Linked DNA regions of Homo sapiens: all the other regions are linked to region 5. The links are contacts of gene promoters, found by promoter capture Hi-C in human tissues and cell types (Jung and others, 2019). All regions are on one chromosome and are shown on one strand. The core of a region is centred on a gene start or on the middle of the fragment in contact, and the rest is flanking DNA. Distances in the headings are between cores, read along the strand shown. Region 1 overlaps ABTB2 (ankyrin repeat and BTB domain containing 2). Region 2 overlaps ABTB2 (ankyrin repeat and BTB domain containing 2). Region 3 overlaps ABTB2 (ankyrin repeat and BTB domain containing 2). Region 4 overlaps LMO2 (LIM domain only 2). Region 5 holds the start of NAT10 (N-acetyltransferase 10). Region 6 has its middle 79 kb from the start of CAPRIN1.

Region 1 (3,514 bases), core at 795-3,294, 230 kb after region 5:
AAACAAAAGCTAGAGCCTTGGCAACCATCTACATGCATCTAAACCATATGACCCTCCCTCCCCTAATCCTTCCCTTTCCCTCTTCCCATGAGGCATAACCATCAACCGTGTTTCCCATCCCCTCACTTTCTCTCTTACATGGTATTTACTGTGCCTGTAATGTACTCCTTCAGCACATCTTAATATTTGGGTTTTTTTTTTTTTTCGTAACCAAATGTGTGATTTATTTTTGGAAGAAAGTAATTAAAACTGAGGCCTTTTTCCAATAAAGGGGAGAAATAACAATAACAGATAATACCCTAGTTACAAGCTAATTACCACAACCTATACAATGTGGGTGTGCTCAACATGTATTCAATGATATGAATAATGAACATTTGCAATTTTAAAATCCCATATCACTTACCAATGTTGTAAATTCATAAATGCTGAAATAAATAGAAATAAGTATATTTTAAAAACTTTAGTCTGACAGTGTTTATAGATCAACCCAAATATTACATACAAATAATACAGCAAATGAATGGACATTTCCGCTAATTTCCACTTAATTTCTTCATAATATGGCTGTCTGGTGTTGCATTAGTGAAGATGCTTCCTACAACTACACGGGTACCCCAGAGACTATGACGAATCACTTTAAGCATCGAAGGTCATCAACAGAGAATCCTAAATGTCGGTAGCATTCATCAGTTTCAAAAAGATTGTTGTTTGTATATGGTCCAAAAAAATGCCAAACCAGATGATGGGTCAGTAAAGTCAGCCCAATATCCCTCAGCACAAAGAGTACAGCAAATTTCCTTAGCAACATTGATGAACTTTTCTAAGAGCACTTCTCTTTCAGTTTCTACTTCTTCACTCTAAACAGTCATATTATTCTTAGTTTTCTGTGTTACAGTCAGAATGATTAATTTGCTATTAGCTACTTCTGGAAACAGTGATTCAAAATCTTTTCGCCACAATTCTGGACACGTTTGTATTGCACACTCCACTCTGGCACTTTCAAAGTTAAGTTTCTGCACTGTTAATTTCTTGTTCAACAGGTGCATCATTACCCTGAAATTCATTCACATATTGTGTCATCACAAACTTGTGTCTTTCACTTGATAAAGTTTCTGCTAGAACATCAGGCAAAGTTTTATAAAGCAGGCTTTTCTTCTGTGAAGCAGTCCCATTGAGGTGACAATCAAAACCTATGATCCCAGGAAGCTTGAACCTCTGATCTTGAGGTCCAAACGGTCCCATAGTTTCATCAGGCCACACCTTTTGAGAGCATATATCTGGAGGTAGAGCGGCCACATGAGACACCTAAACCTGACAATCCTGCGGTTGAAAAGGCTTTGGGATTGCCAACGTTTTAACTAAAGAGTAAAATCCTGGGAGATAGGAAAACAGTCTGGCTCTGTTACAAAGCACATTGGCCAACTCTACTGGAGGGGACAGTTCACTAAATAGCTTTCCTTTGGTAAAGTTATTCCAGTCACCACCACTGTCTCCAGCTGTCCCAGAACCTGACGTTCCTGCCATCCAATATTTGTTTTTAATTTCTCTACATTGTATTGTGCTGTAATATAATCTTTTGAGCTTATTTTTTTCACTTACTACTAAAGCTTATTCAACTAATTTTTCCTCCTATTCATTCAATGTCAGCTGAGCCCATGCACCTTCTGAGAAGCATTGTTTACACTTTTGCATTTCACATTTACAACACCATAAGGCAGGTACTACTATCATTCCAAGTTTATAGATTAAAAAACAAATAGGTTGAGGTACTTGCCTAGCACCACATTAAAAAAGCAGCCAGGCCAGGCACAGCATTCTGGGAGGCTGAGGCAGGAGGATTGCTTGAGGCCACAAGTTTGAGACTAGCCTGGCCAACATAGTGAGATCTTATCTCTATAAAAAATTTTAAAAAATTATCTGGGTGTGGTGACTTGTGCCTGTAGTCCCAGCTGTTTGGAAGGATCAGGTGGAAAGATCACTTGAGCCCAGGAGTTTGAGGTTGTCATGAGCCATGATCGTACCACTACACTCCAGCCTAGGTGACAGAGGGAGGCCCTGTCTCAAAAAAAAACAAAACAAACAAACAAACAAAAAAAAGCAGCTTACCTGCAGTTAGACCCGGGTTTGTTTCCAAAGCCCTTATTTCCCTACTGTAAGACTCAGGGTTAATGCTTGCATATGGGTGGGCTCCCTCCCCATGCCAAAGGAAGGGTGGCCAAAGATAACCCCCAAACTGGTAATCATCATCACCATCATCATGACTAACATACGGGAGACTCACACACCAGGTCCTGTTCCAAGCATTTTACGAGGTGTAGTTCATTTAATCTTGTCCACAACTATCATATGAGGGAAACAGGATTATCCCTATCTTACAGACAAGTAAACTGAGGCACCGAGATATGAAGTAATTTGTCCAAGAAGAAGTGGAGCCAAGATTTGAATGCAGGCAGTCCAGCTTCATACCCACACCGTCAATCACAAGGCCCTACTGCTTCTCAGTTTACTGAGGAGGACAACCACCTGAGTGCAAGTGAGTGGATTCGGATGAGTGCTGGCTAAGAGGAGGCCTGTGCTGGGCTTGCACCTGGGTGGAAACTGCAGCACTTCCGGAACCTGGCTTATTTGTTGAGGAAGGCCCCGATTCTGCGCCTGTCTGGGGAGAAGAGTTGCATGCAGGGGCTGTGTAGGGAAGGAGGCAGGGGTTGAGGAGGAGGAACAGCAGACCACAACACAGACAGCCTTAGGACGGGCACAGCTGACTGGCTGCTGGTCTCAGCCTAGGGAAATAACAAGGTTCTCAAAGCCAGGACTGGAAAGGCCAAAGGGCCGTACCTTGAGGAAAGATGGCACAAGCAGCTTTCTCAAAAAATTCTGACACTGTACTTATAATGCAGGATTCTTATTTGACCCAATAGCCTAATGCTTTTGATTAAAACTTTCAGCATGGAAAACGTGGGCTTTGAAGTCTGACAGTACTAATCTCAAACGCTGGCTCTGCTACTTGTGTGTATGGGTGACCTCGAGCAAGTCATTTCAACTATCTCAAGGCCTCAGTTTCCTCATTTGTAAAATGAGGATAAATAATGTGACCTACAGCTCACAGGCTGTAGTGAGGATTCCACAAGATACTGCATGCAAATCACTAGTGTCCTGCTCACCTCATAGTAGGCATTCGGCAAATAACAACCTATATTTTTATCACCACCGACTCATCACATTTGGTTGGAAAAATTAAACGAGATAGCATCCAATAAACATTGGTTATCTTTCTAACACCTCTCCCCACCTCCCCCTACTCAAATCACCCTAACCATGATCTCCATCTTACCACCCACAGAGAAGACCCTCAAAGACTGGCCTTTCCCAAACTGTACATCCTCAAGAGGGTCCTTTGCCCCATACATACTGTGAGAGGAGCGCAGAATAAAATCCACCCCCAGTGATGTAGATGGAATTCACAAACCTGCCCGTTTATCTAGAATCGCCGCAAGAGTTGCTTTAAAAATAC
Region 2 (3,385 bases), core at 136-2,635, 180 kb after region 5:
TGTCTGAGCTGCCTTACAGAACCTCTTTGTATAACCAGAATCACCCTTGGGTACCTGGAAAAGGCAGGCAGCACCAAAGCTTCTATTCAGAAACAGAACTTTAATCACACTAATAAATCGGCCTGCAAACAGGAATTATTGACTGGCTTCCATGAAAGCTGACGCTGGAAGAAAAGGTGTGAGAGTGGAAGACAGAGGTGAGGAGGTCATACTTAGGGTGAGTTGTTGACGGATGAACAAGAAGCAGGGGATGGGTAACTGTAACCAGAGAGGTGGAGAAAGCGGAGGGCTTAAACACACATAGGAACATTTATAAAATAAATAAATATTTGTAAATAAATTAAAATGATAAGAGATGGACCCAAGTCCAGCACTGCAGCCAGAAATCTGTCAGGAGGCCCTGAACACTGGCAGCAGGCTGTGTGCCTGCACACACCCCACCTGATACCGCCTGGAGCCAGAGGGGTGTTAATGAGGCTGGGTGGAGAGGCAGACCCCATTTTTCATCACTGACACTCAGACTGGCCGTCCTCAGCCCAGGACCCTGGCCAGTCAATCAGCTGCCAGCTCCGCTGTGTGTAAACACCTTCCATCCTCAGTCAGCAAAAGAGGCAGGTGCTGGAGATCTGGTCACGGTCAGTTGGACAATCTGATAAAGCCTTCCTGGGGTCGCTGTGGCCCAAGAACAGCCCTGGCATAATTAGACCAGGCGGAGGGGGGCTGTCAGGCAATCCAGGCGGAAATCACAGGGTCTCTGCCAATCAAAAGGAAACCCAACCGAGGGGACCGGTGGGGAGGGGGACATTTGCTGTACAAGTGGACAGTGGGGGAGGGGAGGTTTCCCCGAGGCTGGATGATGACTCTGGCAGGGCTACGCAGCTCATTATGCAAGCCCCAGAGTTAGGCGGGTGCTATCGATCACTATCGGGGGTCCCTGGGGATTCATCATTATATAGCAGGACCTAGTGCGTGCTTTGCTCTGGCGGTAACCAGAGGAACATGGCAATGCATCCTTGCCAACGGAAAACAGGGTGGCCCTTTTTTCCCCTCTTTTAATTATCTTGCAGGCCTTCTTAACCACAAAGGTGCAGAAATGGACAGTAATAACAAAAACACCTCAAAAGGTTTGTAGTTTACAAGGCCATTCTATACGTGCAATCTTAGGGAGGCCAGGCGAGGGTTCATCCTTAAGATAGCATGGCTGGGAACACAGGGGCCTGCTGCTCTACCCTGGAGCCGTCACACGTGCACAAAATGCTAGATTCACTCAGGGATTTCAGTATTTTTAAGAGCTGGGTAGCGCTCTCCAACCACTCTCCCAGCATGGGCCTCTATGACATCTCAATTGGCTGGGTGCTTCTGACTGCTTTTTGGGAAGAGATGCCCAGGTTACTGAGAGGCAAGCACTTCTTTTACTCCGTTGTTTCTTCTTTTACTAAGCTAAAAGTTCCCCTCCTGCATCTTGTGTCTGTAACTGGGATGGTCTAAACTTGATGGGCAGCCTCTGTCCTGGGCCTACTTGCACCTTGGGAAAGGAGTCTCTTGGTACATTGCCCAAATAAATTCAACTCAATGACCCAATACTATAGTTGGGGAAAACAAAAGAGATTTACATTGCACATTTATAGAAGAAAACATTATAATCGCCTGTAGTCTCAGCTACTTGGGAGGCAGAGGCAGGATGACTGCCTGAGCCCAGGAGTTTGAGGCCAGCCTGGGCAACATAGAAAGACCCTGTCTCAAAAAAAAAAAAATTAGTAAAGAAAAATTTTAGGCTGGATGTGGTGGCTCACACCTGTAATCCCAGCACTTTGGGAGGCAGAGGCAGGAGGATCGTTTGGAGCCAGGAGTTCAAGACGAGCCTGGGCATCACGGTGAGACCCTACTTTATTATTTTTATTATTATTTGAGACGGAGTCTTGCTCTGTTACCCAGGCTGGAGTTCAGTGGCACGATCTCGGCTCACTGCGACCTCTGCCTCCCCAGTTCAAGCGATTCTCCCGCCTCAGCCTCCTGAGTAGCTGGGATTACAGGCACCCGCCACCACACCCAGCTAATGTTTGTATTTTTAGTAGAGATGGGGTTTCACCATGTTGTCCAGGCTGGTCTTGAACTCCTGACCTCAAGTGATCCACCTGCCTTGGCCTCCCAAAGTGCTGGGATTACAGGCATGAGCCACCATGCCCGGCCTCAAAATATTTTAAAAAAGATCCCCCTTTCCATTCCTAGGTTCCTTCGCCAGCACCCTTCTTCCAGCATCCACCTCTAGATCTCCCATTCCTGTTTTTGGTTCTCACCATCCATCACCATTTTCATGCTGTTTCTGCTCTTCTCATCATTCCCAGCAAAACAAAAGCCTTTTAGCTAGGACTCTCAACATGTCTCCCCTTGGAGGCTTAGAAACATATTCACGGACATTATGCTGAGTAAAAGAAACCAGCCTCAAAAGCTTATATACTGCATGACTCCATTTATATGATATTCACACAAGACAGAACTACCACCATGGAGAACAGATTGGTGGTTGCCGGGGCTGGGGGAGGGAAGGGTGTGACTATCAGGCATAGCAGGAGGGAGCTCTGGAGGGATGGAACTGTTCTGCCTCCTCATCATGGTGGTGGTTGCACAAATGAATACATGTGTTAACTCATAGGACTTGGGCTGGGTGCTGTCATGGCTCATGCCTGTAATCCCAGCACTTCGGGAGGCTGAGGTGGGAAGACTGCTTGAGCCCAGGAGTTCAAGACCAGCCTGGGCAACATAGTAAGACCTTGTCTTTATTGAAAAAAAAAAAAAAAAGACTCATAGGACTGTACACACACCCTTAAAAGTCAAATTTACTGTATGATAATTTAAAAAATATACACAGCAAAAGAAGAGATCTCTTGGCTGGGTGTGGTGGCTCATGCCTGTAATCCTAGCACTTTGAGAGGCCAGGAGTTTGAGACCAGCCTGAGACCAGCCCGGCCAACATGGCAAAACCCTGTCTCTACTAAAAATACAAAAATTAATGATGTGCGCCTGTAGTCCCAGCTACTCAGGACTCTGAGGTGGAAGAATCGCTTGAATCTGGGAGGTGGAGGCTGTAGTGAGCTAAGAGCACACCAGCCTGGGTGACAGAGCAAGACTCTGCCAAATAAATAAATAAACAGATCTCCTCTTTATATGGCTGGGGCAATTCTGCAACTATGAATGAGCAGTTGGTTCCAGTCACCAAATAGACCTACTTCTTCAGAAATCTTCCAATTTTTGAAGACAGTTTTCTGCACAACATACAGAGGCTCTCCGCACAAGCTAGGGCTTCCCCAGGTATTACTTGACTTCGAGGGTCCCCTTCTATTTTACCTTGGAGAGGCCTTTCCTGAGCCCTCTCCGTAAGGCAGCT
Region 3 (3,654 bases), core at 5-2,504, 150 kb after region 5:
AAGTGAGTCAGAAATTAAAAACTTCTTTTTTTTTTTTTGAGACACAGTCTCGCTCTGTTGCGCAGGCTGGAGTGTAGTGGCACAATCTCAGTTCACTGCAACCTCAAGCGATTTCAACTTCAACTCAAGTTCAACTTCAACTTCAAGCAATTCTTGTGTCTCAGCCTCCCAAGTAGCTGGGACTACAGGTACGTGCCACCACACTTGGCTAATTTTTATATTTTTGTAGAGACAGGGTTTCACCATGTTGCCCAGGCTGGTCTTGAACTGCTGAGCTCAAGTGATCCGCACGCCTCGGCCTCCCAAAGTGCTGGGATTACAGGCGTGAGCCACCAGGCCCGCCCAGAAATTAAATACATTTTTTTTCCCCTCCTCTACCGGTCTTATCCGAGGAGCCATAAAAATAGAGGGGGAGAAATGTGATCCCACAATGGCCTCAAGGACATTCCAAATGTCTTCTTAAGTAAAACCCAACTCCTGATCATTTCCTTTCGGGCATCACTACCCAGCCCAGTTTTCAGGACATCAGCATTCAGTCCAAAATGGTGCAGAACCCACTAGGTGGAGATTAAGTCCTCACAAAACACCCTGGCACTAGCCCAACACCTATTTCTGTTCCTGCGTAAAATCCAACCAAAGAGTCTCAGCAACTGTGTTGTCCACACTGCCGTCGGTTTTATCATCTACTTGTGGGGGGTGGGGCGGGGGGCACCTAGAGACAAATAAATCACACGAGGAACAGTCAGATGGAAAACATAAACTTAATAAAACACAGACAGAAAATAAACCACTGGCCCAGCCACTAGTGACCAGTGCAATGTTGTCTTTCTCCCCCCTCCCTTCTGGTCCCTGGTGAATGCCCCCTAATTCTGGGAAAGGCTCCCTTTCGTCTTCTGAGTCAGTCTTGAAGGAATACTGCAGTATTTCAGCCTTGGGTTTCTAGCAGAGAAACAAACCCGGTTTTGTCATATAATTTTCTGCACCTCCACTGAAATAACACATCATTTGTGGATCCGTGCTAAAGCAAACACCATATGGTGGCTGTGTAAAAAGCTGTCCGGGGTTCTGACCTTCCAGTTGTAGGGGGTTTGTTTGGGAAAAGAAGCCAGGGTTGGGGGAGAATCAAGTCGCTAATGAGACATGGTGTCGGCAACCTGTACAGTGTGACATTTGGGGGCTTGGTGGAGGACGAGGTTGGTGTCAGGTTCCAAACACTCAAGGCAAAATCACCAATGACTTTTTTGTTTCCCAAGTGAAAAATGGTTCATGAAGTCTATTTTCCCAGTCTCTTATCTCAACACTCACGCTCTTTCACTCCGGAGGGGACGGACGGAGAGCCACAGGCTAACCAAGAGGAAAATTACAACCTAAAAAATCTTGCTGGCAAATTCTCCGTTTTGTGGACTGTCATGGCTGTGCAGCTGCAAGGATGAGACAGAGTTTGTCCTGTCTCTGGCCAGATTTCTTGAGTTGCTCTGAACTGCTACCCAACCAGGGCTCATCTACACACAGAGCCACTCATAGTAGTCAAATGCCTTCTGAGCAGCTTAGCTGGTAAAACACAAACTTATTTAAGAAATATTAAAGTTCTGAATATACAGTGCAACTTCATTATTCCTCACACATGAAATGACCCCAAGTGTTAGTACAAATAGCAGGTGGCCTATGGTCCGATGAAGTGGGCTTGTTATGAAGATAGGTCTTAATACCAACCTCTGAATTCTGACTTGTCCATTCAGAACACCATGGTGGAAAAAATGAAAAGAAAATGAACCCAAGAGCCACACGTGGCTCAGGAAGATGTGGCTCTATGGCAGCAGAGAAGGAAGAAAAAGCGACTGCAGCATTTAGAATTGGTACTTATCAAAAGCAACCCAGAGCGCCACATCTCCAGGAGGCCTCTAAGAGGTGAAGGTGGAGGAGAGTTTTTACACTAGAAACGGGCACAGAACCCAGCCAAGGAAAGAGAAGGCTTGCCATCATATACTCAGATGAATCAGGTAGCCTCTAGAACTTTCTGTAATGGTGACAGTGCTCTGTATCTGTGCTGTCCAACACAGTAGTCACTAACCCACACAATCATCGAGCATTTGAAATGCAGCTAATACGACTGAGGAGTGACTTCTTTTTTTTTGAGACAGGATTTCGCTCTGTTGCCCAGGCTGGAGTGCAGTGGTGCAAACATGGCTCACTGCAGCTTCGACCTCCTGGACTCAGGCATTGTCCTATGTCAGCCTCCTGAGTAGCTGGGGCTACAGGCGTACACCACCACATCTGGCTAATTTATTTTTATTTTCTGTAAAGATAGGGTCTTGCTATGTTGCCCAGAATGGTCTGAATGGTCTCAAACTCCTGGGCTCAAGCAATCCACCTACCTCACCCTCCCAAAGTATAGGGATTACAGGCGTGAGCCACTGCACCTGGCCTTGAGGAGATATTCTCTACCTAGGGGTTGTTAATAATCACATGGACCCACCTAATCCCTCCAAAGCACATCCCAATCAGTCACAGGCCATGCTACCCCAGTCTCCCTGAGTCCCCAGCCCAGAGTCCCTCAAGGAGGCAAGGCCCAGGCAGGGGCAGCAGAGCCTTCAGGCAGTTCTCTAATGACCCCTGCAACTCCACTGTCAGGACCCGCCTCAATAACTCCAATCTGTGTTGTCCCCATAGAAATCTCAGGATTAAGGGTCCCAGGGCATACTTTATGGATTGTGATGTTGGCCTATAAACTTTGTGTCACTGATCCCAACAGTTCTCCACTATTACTGTGTATCCCTCACAGGTTTTCCCCACAGGTCATTTGAATATGGAATGACAATTTACAAATATCTATCCCACTTCATTTTTTTTTCCCTTTAATCCTCACAGTGAGAGAGAGGTAAGAGGAGGTACCATCACACCTGTCTTACAGATGAGAAATACCCCTGTCAAAGATTTACAGAGATGGAATTAATGACACAATAGTAGACTGAAGACAATCCAGTGTTGCTCTAGGCAACTTATTTAACTTCTCAGTGTTTTGGTGCCATCTATCAAATGGAAACAGCAGTAGGAATTGCCTCTTAGAGTTGTGAGTTAAAATATGCACAGTCCTTAGAACTGTGCCTAGTGAGCACTACAGAAGTGCCTGCTCTTTTTTTTTTTTTTTTTTTTTTTGAGACGGAGTCTTGCTCTTGTTGCCTAGGCTGGAGTGCAGCAGGGCGATCTCAGCTGAATTCAACCTCCACCTCCTGGGCTCAAGCAGTTCTCCTGCCTCAGCCTCCTGAGTAAGGCACCTGCCACCATGCCCAGCTAATTTTTGTATTTTTAGTAGAGACGGGGTTTCACCATGTTGGCCAGGCTGGTCTCAAACTCCTGACCTCAGGTGATCTACCTGCCTCGGCCTCCCAAAGTGCTGGGATTAAAGGCGTGAGCCACTGTGCCCAGCCAGAAGTGCCTGCTCTTGTTAGGGAAGTGTAGTACATATGCGTGTGGTAGTGGTGGGGCATATCACTTTATATTTATATACCTGGTTGTTTTTCACCTGCTGTTCTGCTCACATTATGCTATGTGTGAGGATTGAACATTTATTTGCTTGGTGAAGTCTAAGTGTTCAATGTATGTTTGCTGCTATTGTTAATTCTTGCTGTTGTTACTGTTACTGTTGCAATTGTT
Region 4 (3,511 bases), core at 822-3,321, 240 kb before region 5:
ATCATCCCCATTTTACAGATAAGGAAATCGAGGCTTAGGAAGGTTAAATAACTTGCCCAAGGCCACCAAGCTGGGAAGCAATGGTATTGGGACTCAAACCTCCAACTGCCTACAGGGCCTTTGCCTTTCTGCTCTTCGAAGACTGCCTTCCTGCTATGAGTCAATGCTTGGAGCTCCATATGCTTTCTATTTTTAAATTTCTCATCATATAATACTGGAGTCATACAAAAAAAATTTATAACATACATATATGTTCTGAAGCATTCAAATGAGGTCCTCAGAGCCCACCTCCAAACTTAGAAACACTCCCAGTCCCTCTGATCCTCCGTGTGTACTCCTCCTCAATCCCATCCCCTAGCTTCTCCCGCTCCCCAAGGGAAGCACTTTTCTGAATTTTGGGTATACAATTCTCTTGCCTTTAAAGATATTAGTATTTTACCACATAGGAACGTAACCCTGAGAACATGCTTCTCAAACAGGAAGAAATGCCCTCTGCTTCTCAGCACAGGAGCTGAGACTCAGCCTCTGCAGTCTGACCTCTTTCTATAGGTGGTGTCCGAGCCTGGAGCAGGGTAAGGGGCAACACACACCGACTGCAGATGTCCATGGACCACCCAGCCTCCCTTCCGAGGGCCCAGTGGAGTGCCGGGGAGGGTACCTGAGATAGTCTCTCCGGCAGAGCTTCCGGCCCAGTTTGTAGTAGAGGCGCCGCCCCACCTCACCCAGCCGGCAGCCACAGAGGTCGCAGCTCAGGCAGTCCTCGTGCCAGTACTGGTCGATGGCCTTCAGGAAGTAGCGGTCCCCAATGTTCTGCTGGCAGCCGCCGCATGTCAGCAGGGATGGGGGGATCTGCAGCACCTCATCCACTGGTTCCCTGGAGAGAAGGCCAAGCATCAGGGACAGCCTCACCAGAGTGAGACCAGCACCGAGGGTCCGAGATCGTTTTGGGCCAGACAGGGCATCTCACCTGACTGCCTTTCAGTGACCTAAGGGAGAAGGGACAGGACAACACATCCCTTGGCCAGACTGCAGAGTCCCAACCAACCTTGGGTTAAGACGGGAAAGAGCCAGACCTTACTCCCTAGATGTCTAAGAAGTAAACACAGGGCACCAAGAGGCATCAAAGGCAATTGCAGGTGGCACTGTGCCCCTGCCCATGCCCAGCACTACCTGGGCACCTCTGGTCTCCTTCTGCTTTTTCCCACTCTCCCCGCTGACTCTATCTTCACAGATCTCCCTCATTTTCCTCCTCCCATAACCTGGACACCCAAGGGCACTGCCTAACCTCAAAGGACGCACTCTGGACTAAAAGAGTCGCTCACTGCCAGGGCAGCAGATGACCCAGAGTGCTAAGAATCTGCAAATCCCCAGTGCCATCCTCCCTCCAGCCCTAACCAACTGCACAAAAGCAGAGGTGAGGAAGAAAGAAGAATGAGACCAAAAATTATTTTAGGTTGCTTTCTCTTTCCAAAATCAAAATTCCATCAGGACATAATAGGAATTCTCCTAATTTTACTTTTTTACAGAAATTCCATTTTCCATTCTTCCTACTGAAGGAATACTTGGAGGAAAATCCCATATCGTAAGGCCATTGTTACACGAAGGACATCAAATAGGCCTTTCTTTCCTTACCTGAACATTTTTATAAGAGTAAAATTGATTTGGATAAAGTTGATTTGAGGAAGAAAATGAAGTGGGGGCAATGATTATTTCAAAGAGAGTGGAAGGCAATTAAACAGACACTGACATCTCAATCCAGCAATTGTTAATAGGCTGTGACACGTGTTCTTTCGTTAATACGCCATGCATAGCATCTCCTGTTCACTTTGCTTCACTGGAATCTGAATACATTTTTACATTTAAAAATAAATAACTTTGCTAAAAGAAAATAAAGGAGTGGAAGGAATTATTCTAGTGTCCCCCACATGGGACACAGCAAACACTTAATACGTGTTGATTTATAATAATTAGCAAGTGTTCTCTGGAACCTTACTTAAACACAAATCTATTTCTTAAAAATCTATTATGTTTCAAAAAACAGACCTTCTTCCATCTGTAAAATTCCCAAAGGGAGTTTCCTCCTGGGTACCCTGCAGGTATAAATCCATGTCTCCTATTTCTAACTGGTACTAACTTACCAGGCGACCTTGTGTCCTAATTGGTCTGTGCCCATAAAGCCCAGCAGCCATTATACTTGGGGACAGGAGGCTAGGTGGCTCAATGTCTATAACACTCTGACAACTTCAGGTGATCCCGTCATGTGAAGTATGAAGTGTTCCTTATGAATATTTAGGAGTGCTAAAGCCATGCCCACACTTTCTAGACACAGTGTAACAGCACTTCATGAGACTATCATCTTTGGAACAAGAAAATGGGAAGCTCAAGTTAGTTTATCTGGGGAAAAAAAATGGCCAGGTACAGTGGCTCACGCTTGTAATCCCAGCACTTTGGGAGGCCAAGGCAGGAGGATCACTTGAGCCCAGGAGTTTGAGGCCAGCCTGGGCAACGTGGCAAAATCCTGTTTCTACAAAACATATAAAAAATTGCCCAGGCTTGGTGGCATGAGCCAGTAGTCCCAGCTACCCAGGAGGCTGAGGTGGGAGGATCATCTGAGCCCAGGAAGTTGAGGCTGCAGTGAGCACTGCACTCTAGACTAGACAACACAGTGAGACCCTAGCTCAAAAAAATTCAAAACTATAGTTTTTTGTTTGTTTGTTTTGAGACACAGTTTCACTCTTATTGCCCAGGCTGGAGTGCAATGGCACAATCTCGGCTCACTGCAACCTCCACCTCCTGGGTTCAAGTGATTCTCCCGCTTCAGCCTCCCGAATAGCTGGGATTACAGGTGTCCACCACCAGGCCCAGCTAATTTTTTTTATTTTAAGTAGAGACGAGGTTTCATTCACTGAAGCCTTGCTTTCTTTCCTTTGTTTCTACAGATTGTATATAAGGACTGCCATTTCCCCTTCTAATAACTAATACCCTAGCTTTTTCATGTGTATCAACTCAGAGTTGCATCTCTTCTCTTTCCACAGCCCATGGTCTTACTCTGGGCTTTCAAAACCACTCATGGAACCTGGACGCACATTGGATGTCCCGATGTTGATGCTGCCAAAGGACTGTGAAAGAAGAGAATTTGCCCTTAGCTGGTGCAAAACTGCCTGGAATTCAAATGAACTGCTCTTGTTACTCACAGGGGAGGCAGTGGGGGCCACCAGTAGCACAGCAAGGGAATCTGTGTTCATGAATTCTGGCTGGCTTTCTGTCCAAATGTTTCATTTGCATATAGCTAGGCAAGTCTCCATCTGTAATTTGGAGATGCTGATTGTAATGACCCAAGCTGGATTTGAGGAAGTACACAATGAAGCATCTAGTAGGATACTGGACAACAGGAGGAATGTAAAGTAAAAGAGTTACGGTGATGGCCTGAGATGAGATGGAGAAGTAAAGTATAAGATATTGGCTCTGTCTTTCTATACTTAATTAATGATAATATCACATTATACTTAGT
Region 5 (3,714 bases), core at 451-2,950:
GGATGGGGTGGTGGTAGTGAATGGATTCTATGGATTCCCTATCTCACTGGTCACTACTCAGTATCCTTTGCTGATTTCTCCAGGTCTTGGATGTCAGACTTCATCTCTAGCTGTGTTCTTCCCTGGGTGATCTGATCCAATCCCATGATTTTGAATATGATCAGCATTTTAGTCCTGAATATTTCTAGGCCCCAAACCTCTCAAAACTCATATTCAACATCTTGATATGAATTTCTCAATATTCCAAGTCAACTCCTTGATTACCCAACACCAGTTGTTCATTCATCCAGTTGCTCAGAGCAAATGTTTTGGGTGCCATCTTCAATGTACTTTTATAACCTGCATCTAATCCTTAAGTGAGTCCACGTGGTTCTAACTTGAATATCCAGAGTTATCTTATACTTCTAACTACTACCACAACTACCATCCTAGCACAGGTGACTACAATAGCTTATAATTGTTCTCCTTTTTCTACTTTTGCCTTCCTGTGATTTAGTTTTTGCATAACAGGAAGCCTTTTAAGAGGGCAAAGCAGATTTTCTCATTTCCCTGTCCCCCACAAACTCCAGTGGTTTCTCATCATGACTAGAATTAAATTCTAAATCTGGTCCTTCACTTGCCCACTGCTTTGGCCACACTGACTGCTTTGCCAGGACTCCCCCATCTTGGAGCTTTTGTATGTACATCTTTGGCACGGGGAAGTTTTTCACTCATATTCTCAGGGCTCATTCTTTCTAAATTTCAGGTCCTTGTTCCATCCAGTGTCACCCCGTCAGAGGCCTTCAGTGTTCGTTTCTAAAATAGTATCCTTAGTCACTTTACTCACTGGATACTTCTGCTTAATAGCATTTAAAACTTAACCTAGAATTAACCACGAGGGGCAGGAACATTTTGGACACTATCCCTTGTGAGCAGAATAGTGCGTGGGCATATTCACATTTTGCTGAATGAACTAAAAAATTTCATGATGGATGTTGGATTAAATGGGTAGTGCTGCTGATGACATTAAAAGTGTATCTGGGGAAGGGGTTTGGATTCAGACATTTGCGGTATCCAGGAGGAAACATCAAGCAGTTGATAATGTTTTTTGAAGTTCAGCGATCTGCCCCAAAGTCAAGAATGCAACACTATGTATAGGTTGTCCCTGTAGTCATGTTCTTGGAGTTCACTGGAAGCCCAGGGGGAGTAATTTCATTTGACGACCATATACAGGCCTAATGGGAGCCTGCAAAGTACAGCGGCCGCAGTCATGGGTAGATTACAGGATTCCCATCTGTAAGATCAGTACTGTGGGGGTGGAGGGCCAAGCGAAACCAATAAAATAGGTCTGTTGGCCGAGTTTCCTCAACTTAACGGGGATCGGTTAAATTGAACACAAATCGTTGGATCCGTCGCGTTTCGCGTAACCAGGCTGACGCTGAAAACCCTGGACCTACGTGGGCAGGCCCTGGGGTGCGGACATCTATTTTGCCCTTCTTAGCCGAGGTACTTTAGCTGGGATATGAAGAGTGAAGAGGCAAACCGCAGCCAACACCCAGCTACCGCGAGCAGTGGGACTAAAATGCGCAACCGCAGTGGACATCTAGGCCTCAGCTCCGCTTCTGGTGGCTTACGTCATTACTCAGCGACAGCCTTGAGGAAGGTCCCTTCTCGCTCGCCATCTCTGCGACTTTAATGCGCTTGCGCACGTGCTGTCTACCAGTTCCTGAGAGGGACGCGTGCCGCGGAGCCAGGCTTACTACGTGACCCGGACACCAGGCATACGCTAGGGGCAGTCAGCTGTGCCTTCTCTTTCGGAGTTGTTCCGTGCTCCCACGTGCTTCCCCTTCTCCACTGGCTGGGATCCCCCGGGCTCGGGGCGCAGGTACCCAACGCGGGAGGGCCGGGTATGGATGCCAAGATCGGTGTCTGTGTTCTTCCTGGGTCGAGAGGGGACCGGCCTCAGGATGAAGGCTCTGCATCCGGACGGATACCTGGCCTACGCCGTTTGTCCTCCACCCCTCTTTTGGGGCGCTCCAAGATAACAGAATCACCTCTCCAATACGCAGCCGCTCTCGGCGCGTGCTTCTCGAGCGTCCTCGGGGATTTGCGTGGCTCGATAACCACCTCTAAGTAGTGCCTGTAACTGGGGAGTCGGGGTGAATGGGTGGGTGACAACAGTTGTTTTCCGTGGAGCTTGCCCGCAGTGCCTGGCTGCAGGTCTGGGCATTATACTTAGGGTAATCTGATTCCAGATCCTTCCACGTTCTTAAATCCTTCACTGTGCACATTCCTTTATACTCTTTATTCAGCAGTCACATTCAGGACTTGGTTTTGTTTGCCAGTGCACCTAAAATGGTGCCTGCCACATAGATGTTATGTGTAGATAGACGAATGAGTGAGCGAAAAATAATCATCTCCTTCAAGGCCTTCCCCATCCAGGCCTTCCATGACAGCTTCAGCCCATAGTAATCTCAGCCCTTCCTTCATCTGACCGGTCCCTCAGTATAGCTATTTTTTTTTTTTTTACATCTAATTTTACCTGTGTTCTTGTTCCTCATCTCATTCTCTTAAATACCTTCTTCAAGAAGAATGCAAGCTTGAAGTCAAGGGCCTTGTGGTACTACTTCTGGGGCTCCCACAGTAGCTAGAGCAAAAGGCAGCCCCCATTAATTAGTTGTTGATTGATTTTTGCGGGATCTTTATGTGGCCGGCAACACAAGGTTTACAAGTTGGGAAGATTGGCGAACTGGGAAGAGCTCAGGCTTTGGAGTCAGGAAGACTTGAGTGTGAATTCTGTCTGTCGTTTTTCTGCCTCGGGATATTTGAATTCTTTATACTTTCTCCTTTACGTATAAATTGGGGTCCTTGACAGTGACTTAGTGTTTTATAGTAAGACATATGCTAAAATCTGTTTGGATTGGAAGGTTAGAAGGGACAGTTAAGGTATGGTAAGTTTCAGTAAATGAGCTTTATGTTTATAATGCAGTAGGTACCAGAGTTTCTAAGTAGCATGTCACTTTTACATCTAAGTAGCATGTTACTTTTACAGTGATATTTCTGATGGTTTTTTTGATGTATTTATTGGGATGATGCAGTATTTTACTGTAGGTAATCACAGAACTTTTTTTTTTTTTTTTTTGAGACGGAGTCTCACTCTGTCGCCTAGGCTGGAGTGCAATGGCACACCATCTCGGCTCACTGCAACTTCCGCCTACCGGATTCAAGTGATTCTCTTGCCTCAGCCTCTCCTGCAGCTCCACTACCACTCCCGGCTAAGTTTTGTATTTTTAGTAGAGACGGGGTTTCGCCATACTCTTGAATTCCTGACCTCAGGTGATCCACCCGCCTCGGCCTCCCAAAGTGCTGGGCTTACAGGCATGAACCACCACTCCCGGCGAGAACTTTTGAGGTCTGTCTGTACAAAGGCTTCAATATCGTTTTCCCTAAAATGAGGAAACAGTTGGACACATTACATCATGGAATTATTCATTGATGGTTATTGATTTCCCTGACTTTATTAGTAACACGTGAATTTTTTAAGATTCCACAAAAACAAAAGAACAAAATAAAAGTCCCACCATCCAGAAGTAGCTACTTTATACTTTGGTATTTCCTTCCAGTCTTTTTTATTTTTCCCTCTGTTATGTGTATGCATAAGAAATGTTATCATACTTTATTCTGTCATGATCTTGTCATAAGCATCTATATCCATATCCTTAGTTGTTAAAAATG
Region 6 (3,681 bases), core at 19-2,518, 130 kb before region 5:
GGCATTAAAAGAAACAATGAATGAAATGATCTGGCACGTTGTAAGCCCCATAGTTGGTGCTCAATAAATGCTAGTAATATTTACTTGTGGCTTACTGGTTCCTCAAGATTCCTTAAAATCTGAATCTGGACACCCAATGTATGAGGCTGCGCTTCAGCTTCATGTCAGCTGCAAACCTGACAGGGTGTCTTCTAATTTTCAATAATCACTCCACTCCCAACTCCATTCCTCATCCGCATCTGCTTCCCTTCCATTTCCATCTTTGCTCGGCCCAAGTATCAGGCGCTATCTCAGAAGGTTGACAAACCAGCATTGCCACCTGGAGGACAGCATGAGAATCTGGGTGAGAGAACAATTTTATGGCACCAGATAAACCAACTCAGCTGTTCTGTGCCGGCACTAACGAGGCCAAGTTCAGAGGTTCATCCCCCAAAGGGGCCAATTAGCTTTACACTGAGAGGCACTCCGGAGTGCAGCCCCAGCCTCTAACCTTGGCCCCCAAGTTACACGTGTGTGGCTGTTGGTTAGAAGTGAATTCATCAATCCAATCCCATTTTTCATAATTTCTTTAAAACCCAGTTGTAAGGCAGCGTGGAAACAACAAAAATGCACAAGACCTTCTCCTTCCTCTTAAAGAAGCTTCAGCCTGCAACAGTGTTTCCCCAAATGAATCCTGAGACATTAATAGGAGTTATGAGAATAAGTGGCTCCAGTGTTAAATCAGTTTGGAAAACACTGATCTAATCAAAGTCGAGGAGCTTGTTTACGAAAGGGCTTTGCAGAGCTTGCTACATGCTAATATGCACGTGCTAATTTTCCAAGAAGGAAATGCAGTGTGCAGAGCTTCACAGATTTGGACAGCCATGGGCATCCGCACCTTTAAAAAAAAAAAAGAGGCCGGGCGCGGTGGCTCACACTTGTAATCCCAGCACTTTGGAAGGCCGAGGCGGGCGGATCATGAGGTCAGGAGATCAAGACCATCCTGGCTGACACGGTGAAACCCTGTCTCTACTAAAAAAAATACAAAAACTCAGCCGGGCGTGGTAGCGGGCGCCTGTAGTCCCAGCTACTCGGGAGGCTGAGGCAGGAGAATGGCGTGAACCTGGGAGGCGGAGTTTGCAGTGAGCCGAGATCGCGCCACTGCACTCCAGCCTGGGCGAGAGAGCGAGACTCCGTCTCAAAAAAAAAAAAAAAGAAAAGAAAAGAAAAAGAAAAGAAAAGAAAAAAGAAAAGAATAGTAACGAATCTACTGGCCCAGGATATGGCTACTTTCAATGGAACATCTATTTTAAGAAGCAATTCATCCATGGCAAAGGTTCACAGTCTATTGCTAAGTTTAAAAAACCAGGAAGGGGGAAGCATACTGTAGAACAATATCGCGTTTTGAAAAGATAGAAAAAGATGTACATATACTTGGGAGAATAAAAAACAAAAAGACACAAACCAAAATGTTAGCAGCTGTGATCTTTTTGTTGGGAGTGGTAGTTGTTTTTCTGTGCTCTGCTTTTTAAGTTTTCTGCCGTAAACATACAGCACGTGTTAATTTTAAAATGAAACCACCGGCCAGGCGTGGTGGCTCATGTCTGTAATCCCAGCACTTTAGGAGGCCGAGGTGGGCAGATCACCTGAGGTCAGGAGTTCGAGACCAGCCTAGCCAAAATGGCGAAACCCCGTCTCTACTACAAATACAAAAATTAGCCAGGTGTGGTGGCATACACCTATAATCCCAGGTACTCGGGAGGCTGAGGCAGGAGAATGGCGTGAACCTGGGAGGCGGAGTTTGCAGTGAGCCGAGATCGCACCACCGCACTCCAGCCTGGGCGACAGAGCGAGATTCCGTCTCAACTAAAAAAAAAAAAAAAAAAAAAAAAAAAAAGAGGAAGAAGAAAAGAATAGTAACGAATCTACCGGCCCAGGATATGGCTACTTTCAATGGAACATCTATTTTAAGAAGCAATTCATCCATGGGAAAGATTCACAGTCTATTGCTAAGTTTAAAAAACCAGGAAGGGGGAAGCATACTGTAGAACAGTATCACATTTTGAAAAGATAGAAAAAGATGTACATATACTTGGGAGAATAAAAAACAAAAAGACACAAACCAAAATGTTAGCAGCTGCGATCTTTTTGTTGGAGTGGTGGTTGTTTTTCTCTGCTCTGCTTTTTAAGTTTTCTGCCGTAAAGGTACAGCACGTGTTAATTTTAAAATAAAACTACCGGCCAGGCATGGTGGCTCATGCCTGTAATCCCAGCACTTTAGGAGGCCAAGGTGGGCAGATCACCTGAGGTCAGGAGTTTGAGACCAGCCTGGCCAACATGGCGAAACCCCGTCTCTACTAAAAATACAAAAATTAGCCAGGCATCGTGGCATGCACCTATAATCCCAGCTACTCGGGAGGCTGAGGCAGGAGAATCGCTTGAACCCTGGAGGTGGAGGTTGCAGTGAGCCAAGATCATGCCACTGCACTCCAGCCTGGGTGACACAGCAAGACTCCATCTCAAAAACATTTAAAAATGTAAAAAATTAAAAAATAAAACCACAAAGCCCTTGTTTTAGGACAGTGTACCATCTTCATATGACTATTATTGTGGAATGCAAATGTTTCTTACTTACAATGGGGTTACATCTTGATAAACTAAGTTGAAAATATCCTAAGTCAAAAATGCATTTAAAACTGGGCGCAGTGGCTCAGGCTTGTAATCCCAGCACTTTGGAAGGCCAAGGCGGGCAGATCACAAGGTCAGGCGATCAAGACCATCCTGGCTAACAAGGTGAAACCCCGTCTCTACTAAAAATACAAAAAAAATTAGCCGGGGGCCTGTAGTCCCAGCTACTCAGGAGGCTGAGGCAGGAGAATGGCGTGAACCCAGGAGGCGGAGCTTGCAGTGAATGGCGATGGCGCCACTGCACTCCAGCCTGGGCGATGGAGCGAGACTCCATCTCAAAATAAATAAATAAATAAATAATAAATTTTAAAAATGCATTTAGTACACCTAAGCTACTGAACATCATAGCTTAGCCTAGTCTACTCAGACATGCTCAGAACACTTACATCAGCCTACAGTTAAGCAATATCATCTAACACGAAGCCAATTTTATAATAAAGTGTTGAATATCTCATTTCCATTTTAACATTACCAAAAGTGAAAAACAGAATGGTTGCATGGGTACTTGAAGTATGGTTGCTGCTGAACGTGTATCGCTTTCACACCACTGCAAAGTTGAAAAATTCTAAATGGAACCATCATAAGTCAGGGACCATCTACACTCCTAAGAGCTAATATTTAGTGAAGAATAACTAAATTCCTGGATTATGAATTGCCTAGACTATTTCATCTAAACTTCATGTAAATCTTATAAGACAAGGTACCATTTTCTTGCCCCAATTTAAAGATGAAGGGCCAGGCGTGGTGGCTCACGCCTGTAATCCTAGCACTTTCAGAGGCTAGGATCACCTGAGGTGAGGAGTTCAAGATCAGACTGGCCAAGATGGCAAAACCCCACCTCTACCAAAAATACAAAAATTAGCTATGCATGGTGGTGCGTACCTGTAATCCCAGCTACTCGGGAGGCTGAGGCAGGAGAATTGTTTGAACCTGGGAGCCGCAGGTTGCAGTGAGCTGAAATTGCACCACTGCTCTCCAGCCTGGGCAACAGATCGAGACTCCATCTAAATAAAT

The links. Contacts are between HindIII fragments. The study calls those that stand out against the background at their distance.
Region 1: a fragment that was not itself captured here is called in contact with the fragment with the promoter of NAT10 in region 5 in 2 of the 25 tissues and cell types used here (lymphoblastoid cells and spleen).
Region 2: a contact is called between a fragment that was not itself captured here and the fragment with the promoter of NAT10 in region 5, in 1 of the 25 tissues and cell types used here (spleen).
Region 3: a contact is called between a fragment that was not itself captured here and the fragment with the promoter of NAT10 in region 5, in 1 of the 25 tissues and cell types used here (liver).
Region 4: a contact is called between a fragment that was not itself captured here and the fragment with the promoter of NAT10 in region 5, in 4 of the 25 tissues and cell types used here (IMR-90 fibroblasts, hippocampus, lymphoblastoid cells and 1 more).
Region 6: a contact is called between a fragment that was not itself captured here and the fragment with the promoter of NAT10 in region 5, in 1 of the 25 tissues and cell types used here (lymphoblastoid cells).

Annotation. Positions count from the first base shown.
Region 1 is chr11:34,334,578-34,338,091 of GRCh38, forward strand. All of the region lies in intron 1 of ABTB2 (ankyrin repeat and BTB domain containing 2), which reads right to left. It also overlaps the pseudogene MMADHCP2. Among named protein-coding and RNA genes, the nearest start is that of ABTB2, 22 kb to the right of the region's middle. The HindIII fragment of the contact is 6,139 bases long and covers 1-3,514 here.
Region 2 is chr11:34,284,403-34,287,787 of GRCh38, forward strand. The region is part of intron 1 of ABTB2 (ankyrin repeat and BTB domain containing 2); the gene reads right to left. Among named protein-coding and RNA genes, the nearest start is that of ABTB2, 72 kb to the right of the region's middle. RefSeq lists enhancers at 115-615, 616-1,116. The HindIII fragment of the contact is 3,486 bases long and covers 1-3,128 here.
Region 3 is chr11:34,255,473-34,259,126 of GRCh38, forward strand. All of the region lies in intron 1 of ABTB2 (ankyrin repeat and BTB domain containing 2), which reads right to left. Among named protein-coding and RNA genes, the nearest start is that of ABTB2, 100 kb to the right of the region's middle. The HindIII fragment of the contact is 4,651 bases long and covers 1-3,580 here.
Region 4 is chr11:33,863,944-33,867,454 of GRCh38, forward strand. LMO2 (LIM domain only 2) reads right to left here. Exons shown (of 6, transcript NM_005574.4): 5 at 659-874. Among named protein-coding and RNA genes, the nearest start is that of LMO2, 26 kb to the right of the region's middle. The HindIII fragment of the contact is 9,832 bases long and covers 1-3,511 here.
Region 5 is chr11:34,103,929-34,107,642 of GRCh38, forward strand. It overlaps NAT10 (N-acetyltransferase 10), which reads left to right and starts at 1,701. Exons shown (of 29, transcript NM_024662.3): 1 at 1,701-1,864. RefSeq lists an enhancer at 1,454-1,913. The HindIII fragment of the contact is 6,988 bases long and covers 1-3,714 here.
Region 6 is chr11:33,970,893-33,974,573 of GRCh38, forward strand. No RefSeq gene overlaps it. Among named protein-coding and RNA genes, the nearest start is that of CAPRIN1, 79 kb to the right of the region's middle. RefSeq lists a silencer at 170-464. The HindIII fragment of the contact is 6,594 bases long and covers 1-3,681 here.